2 separate regions of the Homo sapiens genome follow, and region 2 is linked to region 1. The links are contacts of gene promoters, found by promoter capture Hi-C in blood cells and fetal thymus (Javierre and others, 2016). All regions are on one chromosome and are shown on one strand. Each heading gives the region's core, a stretch centred on a gene start or on the middle of the fragment in contact. The rest is flanking DNA. Distances are from core to core; before and after follow the strand shown.

Region 1 (3,294 bases), core at 795-3,294:
AATAAAATATATTATTAAAATTAATTTCACCGGTTTATTTTTTAATGTGGCTACCGGAACATTTTAAGTTACATATATAGCTCGCATCATATTAGTGCTGGACAATGCTGACCTGTACTGAAGGTTCTGTGAAGAATCTTTGGGTCATTTACCACTGTACTCCCTTTGCCCCCTCCCCACCCACTAGCACAACACCTGGCTCATAGTATGTACATAATCAATAAGTGTTGAAGCAGGGAAGTCTCTAAATCTCTCTATACATGTATTTCTTCATTGATACACTGTGAGTCTCTATTCACAAGATAATAAAAGTCAAGAAATTTATTACCCATTTTGAAAGGTAAAAAGTATATGAATATTACTGCTTTTGTTGAAAAGCATGAAAATAACGTTGATCCCTTAGGCAACCATCTGTATTCCTAAATATATTTTTTGAATTGTATTACACAAATACTATAAATTAAATGCTGAAAACGGTGGAGAGTGAACAGCTCAAGTGGGAAAACTAGAAACAGCCAAAGGAAAGCTGAGATACCACCACCAATGGGAAGGCAAACGGAGCCCACAGACTTATGATGACCATCTTTATTGTTCTGTTTTAATTTAAAAAGCAGAAGGCTCGTGGTGCTGATGGATTCCAGTGCTCATCGGAATATAATACAAGTATTTATCCAAGAGAGAGACAGTCTGTTTCCAAACTTGATCACTCGCCAAAAAAAAAAAAAAAAAAAAAGTGAATACAATTCTCTTTACCAAAATACCCCAGTATTGATATGCAGGTCCCAAACACACAATAGTTCTTTCACAAACTGGGTAACCAGGACACAATAAACACGACATGCGCACGTGAAAAGTTAGCTAGGTTTTCCCTGCCCTACCGTGAATCCGCATTTGCAACACTCCAGCCCCAACACCCAAACCACTGCTGACCCAGTGCTGAGGGACATGAAAAAAAACACAGCCACATTGCCATCCCCACCCAGTGTGGAAGCTGACGGCATGTAGAGATGTGGGTGGGTGGAGCGCAATGAAAAAGTGAAGCAGAAAGACGACTCATCTAATCCAGGACCATTCAAAGACCCGTAAAAAGGTACTTGTCTTTGTTGCGGGCTTTGTAAAGTCTTGTCAATCCTTCCTCGAAACCAGCCAAGTACCAAGTAACAAAATCCTTAACCCTGTGGTTCACATGAATACACCCCGGCAACTCTCAGCTGCCAGAGCTGGAATCTGGCAACTTCCCTGGACGGGAAAGGCTAGCCCACCGCCCGGGAAGTGAGGTGCGGGCAACAAAAGAACACAGGGTGGGGCCCAGAAACGGACGGGACAAATGGAGCAACACAGATTTTCCAGAAGGCCTCATCAGCGCAAGCAGCCAGCAACAGGTTGCCCTTGTTGCAGAAGTCACATAACCTAATCAACTCTGAATCTTTTCTCTCCTCCCCACTATCTAGAAACAGCTCAGGACTTAGGACTCTGTTAACTTCTCTGTCCACAAGAAAAACTTCTCTGTGCTCACAGGCACACACACAGAATCTGAGGAGAAAGAGGAAATTACAGAGGACACCCGTTTACTAATGATGTGGGGGGGGCGGTGGTGGCTTCAAGAGCGTAGTTTGGGAGCGAAGAGGAGGGCAAAAAAGAAGCCACATCCATTCGGAGCTCAGCTGACCTCTCGGCAGAACAAGTGTCAACGCTTTCAAAGGGCGCGGCTTGTTTCAGCCACGAAAACGCACCGGCTGGCAAGGCAGGCGGCTGGGGGCTGCCTACCCGGAAGCCGGGTGGGGTGGGGGCGGGAACACCTCCGAACCCCGACTCCGCGGTCGCCGCCCAGGCGCGCCGCCCCTCCCTCCGCGCCCGTCCCCACCGCGGGAAAGGGCACCCCGGGCTCGAGTCGTCGGGCAGCCGACGCCGGCGAGACGGCAGGGCGTCGGAGCGGAGGCAAACCCAGCGCGAACGAGGGAAGACGTTACCTTGTTCATCCCATTCCCCATGGTGGCTGAAGGCGAACGCTAGCGCCCCGGCCGTGTGGTCGCAGGCGCACTATGGCATGTTACAGGGAGGAGGAGCGGCGGGGCGGGCGGGGAGGAGGCGCGCGGGAGGGACTGAGTGCTCGCAGTGTCAACAAGTCAGCGGCAGGGACCGGCCGGGCAACCCAGGGCGCTCCAGAGACCCGGCGTGGAGGGCAGGGCTTTCTGTGCGGCGGCCTAGAACTTCCCGGCGGGAGCCGGGCAGGGGCACCGGAGCCTATGCCGGGAAATGGTCCCGCCTTGCCGGTCCCCGCCCCCGTGCGCACCGGGCAGGCCCAGCGTCCCTCCTCGCTCCGCCCGCCCGCACCCTGGGATTCGTAGTCGGGTTCCTGGCTGCCGCGCCCCACTCCGCCCTCGCGGACCCCGGCTCGCGGCCGCCGGGCGTGGGAGGCACTAGGCTCGGGCTCCCAGGCGGCCGGCCCCGGAGGCCAGAGCGCGTGCGCGGCCCGAGCCGCCCCGCCGGGACACCCGAGGCTGCGCGGCGGGGCCTGGCGGACGCGCAGGCGCTGCCCTGACCGGGCGGCTGCGCTCGTCTCGGAGCCCGCTCCCCGGCCGGGGGTCTCCAGATCCCCCTTTGGCCTTTTCCCCTGGGGCGACTCCGGGGGCCAGTTACCAGCAGTCGCTACCCAGCCTTGGCTGCCTCCGTGAATCAGGTGCTAATCAGAGGCCTGGTCTCTGGGGGCTCCCCTGCCTGGGTTTTCTGAGTGCGGCAGATTTAGGCTGGGGGATTTCCTGCGGCCCTGCCCCATGCACCAAGACCGAGAAGCCTCGCCTGGTGGGGAGAGGTGGGCTACGTGACTCACCCCGGGGAGGCCCGACCTCCCTACCCTGGGGGAGCAGATGGCTGGATCTCTGACCTCAGACCTCACGGCCTTAGATGATGTGTGTCCCTTAATGTCTGCATTGTGGTTCTGTCTGGAATGGATCAATTTCTAAACTGTAGCAGAATTGTTTTGGGTGTTCTATCAACGTTATTAAACTCTGAAGTTTCTCTCCAGCGACAGAATCCTTGAGCCAGTGGTTTTTCTTCTTAATTTATGTATCCTCAACAATGTCCTGAACATAGTAGGTGCTTAATAAATATTTGCTGAATGAGTACATGCGTCAATCTGACGTGCCCTGGCTCACCCCTGCTGACTTCATTTTATCTTCTTGCTAAGCGAGTTACACACATGCTGGTCTCCTGTCTGTTCCTTGAGCCTGTCAGGCTTGCTGGGCTGTGCTCTCTATCCAGACACCTGGATCCCCAGCTCTCTGCATACCTGCC
Region 2 (3,294 bases), core at 345-2,844, 120 kb before region 1:
TTTTCACATTTGGAGTGTTAGTTAACCTATATCCCTTCTTTTTAGCAATGACCAAAATCAGAGGAGCTTCGAATATAAACAAAAGAAAACATTAAAAACAACTTCCTTGAAAGCCCTAAACCTTTTAAAGTACAGATAAAGGAAGAGGAGGCAGATGCTAACGGGAGAGCAGGATGATTACTCTTCACAGACACTCCTCTGTGTGGGAGGAGCAGCCCGGCACTTGGCCAGCGTTTGTCTCTTTAACAAGGTGAACACTTGGAGATCTGATTTCAGAGACACGTACAGCAGCCTCTCTGAAGGAACGTAACCGCAGGAGAAAGTGCTTTAAAAGCTATCAGGATGCATGTTTAATAACACACACACACATTCCATAACAAATTTTTAAAAGTTTTTATTTACCTAAAAACATAAATTTATCAAACATATCAATTTGCTTTGCAGAGCAATTTACATAAAAATTCATGATGTATACCAACGACAGCATAGCATTATCTACCTCAGTTTGTGAAGCATCCTTTCCTACAGATCTCAGCAAAACGCAGAGCCAGTAGGGGAAATTCAAGCTTTCATTTGGGGGCCTCTGGGGTCCTACCTGCTGGCAGTTCTTTCAGCAGAAAGTGGGGTACGGGGGATGCTGAAGAGGGGGAAGTGGACCCCATTGCCTGTTAAGTCCCATCTGTCTCAGTTTGAAGCAACACGGGAATTTCCATTGGAGGAGGGTTGGCCTGCCGGCCTGGCCCTTCTCTCACGTCCCCTCTACTTCAGCTACATTTCTTATGCATGTTCCTCAAAGCTGTGAAAATCAATACAAAAAAAAACTGACCTTTACTTCATTCCTGTAACAGGCTATCAGGATCTCAAGGAGATCCACCTGCATCGAGATCAGTCTCAAAAACGGGGCATGTAAAACATAACTTACAAAATGGTGTGTAAGGTCTGAGAGCCTTCACGCACCATTCAGACAGATGCAGCTGGCCACAGAGGACTTGGGGAGATACGTAATACAAATAAAGACCTTAACCAATCCCAACACTTTCAGAAAAACTTTCACCTGTGGGGAAGTGGGGGCATGTGACTGGAGAGCAATGAACGGAAGTTTACACTGGATCTGAATTGTTACTAAAAAAGTAACTGACACGCACACACAAGTGGCCTTCCTGGCGGAGCATCAACAAAGCCAAGAGGTGCGAGTACCCAAGACTCCCAGAGTTGTTCCACCCCTGGGGCTAGCTGTATTTATGCCCTCGCTCAAAGACCAGCTTTTTCAAACACTAATACCTACCTGCCCTTGGTGGTAACAATACTGTAAGGGCTGCTCATTTCACTGTAGGATTTTACATTTTTCTCACCATGGCACAGTCTCTTTTTAGTTCATACCCAATAGTCTAGCTGGGTTTTCTGTAGGGCGACTAACTCTCCTGTTTTCGCTCAGGACTCAGGGGCTTCCTAGGTTTCAGTTGTAAATGAGTCGGTCACTTGGTTCTCTATAGTGTTCCAGGAGATATTAATTACTGCTTGAGGTTTTCCTAAATATACAAAATCTCAAGAACAAGACATAAACCAAGAAATGCACCTGGGAGACACATACATTTTTTCCATATGACCCAGTGCTCTTTAACAAGTCCTCAAATCTTCAACAGCACTGTCCACTGAGTACAAACTAAATTCTAGTTTGCCAATTCCACTTTATCAAGACAAGGAATGAGGAAGCCGTTCCTTTTCAGAGTCCTGAGACAAGTGCTAGGATTCCTAACCCTGAGTATTTCATAGCTAGTTCATTCCCTAGGTCATACCCTGGATCACTCAGAATTTTAAAAAGTCAACATACACATAGATGTAAAGATAGGAAAGGAGGTAGTGGCCCCAGCCAAGAAGCATTTTCCAGAAAATTCAGCTCCACTGTTAAAGCAGCATAATATTTAAAAAAACAAAGAAGAAGAAGTCACAAAGCAATTGAAATGGAGCATCCGCTTGGAGAATTAAGAAGACAGGGTGCTCCTGAGACAGACTTCCAAGACAGCTTCTTTGAAGTGCTGTGTGGGGTTAAATATTCTTCAGCAAAGAGGGTCACAGGTAAGGGCCCCGTGAAACAGCAGTTCTTAATATCATCTTTATCTTCCCTTAGGATAATATACCCCAAAATACTTTGCATCTATAAGATGTATACATCACTGCAGTTCACGAAACACAGTCTGCTGCCCAATACATATCCATGTTGCATGGCTAATGAAATGTCAAACCCTACTGGGTACATGGCAGTGGAGCTCCACAGCAAGGCCTCTGAGCAGAACGAGGTAAATCTTCACTGTTAGCTACAAAGAGCACTGCATGAAAGTGTGTGCAAGATGACTCCATGAGGTTTTCTTTTTAAGTTTATGTATATTTACAGAAAAGTGAAATGTGTTGGAAGAATAAACACCCCTTCTTGTGGACACTTTTAGAGAGGAGAATTTGGGCTGGGAAAAAAGGAGATCCTTTTTATTTTTTTGCTGTTCTCTACTGTTTGTCTTTTCTGTAGTTAATATTAATATTAATTGTATTAATATTCTGACTTTAATATTAGAAACTTTTTAAACATTAAAAAATAATGTTTCAGTGCTCACTGCTCACTAAGCTTGATAAAGGCTGAACTGTGTAATGTAGGGATACAGCAGGCACTTACTAGGTGCTTGTTGAATGAATTTAAAATATCCATTAGAAAAGCAGGAACACACATTTGAGAGCTACGCAATCTTCTGCTGATCCTGGGAGTAATAGTAAATATCCTGTAGTATGAGAAACGGCCTGGAGGTGACGCCCCAGTCTACTGCTGTACTTTCTCAAAACCACAAAAATGTAAGTGATAGGTATACTTAAGCAAGTGGAGGTCTTTGGGATTCTATAAATAGAAGCATTTGGAAAAAGCCAAGTAATTTTAAGGCCCTGTCAAACTATAATTGGCACGAGGAAGCATAGAACAGATGAAATAAGCAGAAACAGCCCACTGAGTGTGCAGTTCCGTAGTCAGCTCCATCCTGCTTCCAGTGGTGGGTCCTGGCAGTGCTCTCCAGCCTGGGAGTCCCCGGCTCCTCCTCCTTTAGTGTCGCCATGGCTGATCGCTGGACAGCCAAACAAACAGAGGAGCGTGGCACAGAGGAAGGGAACAGATAGTTAAGTACTTGGACAGAAGGGCAACAGTTCAAGTATTAAGATTTATGTTCCTTAATTTCTTCTTCTTTATGCGAAGAATTTTAGCATCTCTAAAGAATGAGGGTCAAAAAGATGCAGAAACAAGAAAACTTAACCATTACT

What was found. Contacts are between HindIII fragments. The CHiCAGO score rates a contact against its expected background, and 5 or more counts as called.
Region 2: a fragment that was not itself captured here is called in contact with the fragment with the promoter of DUSP22 in region 1 in 8 of 17 cell types (total B cells, M2 macrophages, naive B cells and 5 more); the score reaches 13.0 in total B cells.

Annotation. Positions count from the first base shown.
Region 1 is chr6:291,237-294,530 of GRCh38, reverse strand. DUSP22 (dual specificity phosphatase 22) reads right to left here and starts at 2,044. Exons shown (of 7, transcript NM_001286555.3): 1 at 1,971-2,044. The coding sequence starts at 1,991. RefSeq lists silencers at 752-811, 822-881, 761-917, 1,662-2,681 and enhancers at 1,312-1,571, 1,864-2,364, 2,365-2,865, 2,792-3,081. The HindIII fragment of the contact is 6,707 bases long and covers 1-3,294 here.
Region 2 is chr6:408,524-411,817 of GRCh38, reverse strand. It overlaps IRF4 (interferon regulatory factor 4), which reads right to left. Exons shown (of 9, transcript NM_002460.4): 9 at 375-3,294. Among named protein-coding and RNA genes, the nearest start is that of IRF4, 18 kb to the right of the region's middle. RefSeq lists enhancers at 1-130, 1,031-1,180, 1,601-1,690. The HindIII fragment of the contact is 2,051 bases long and covers 569-2,619 here.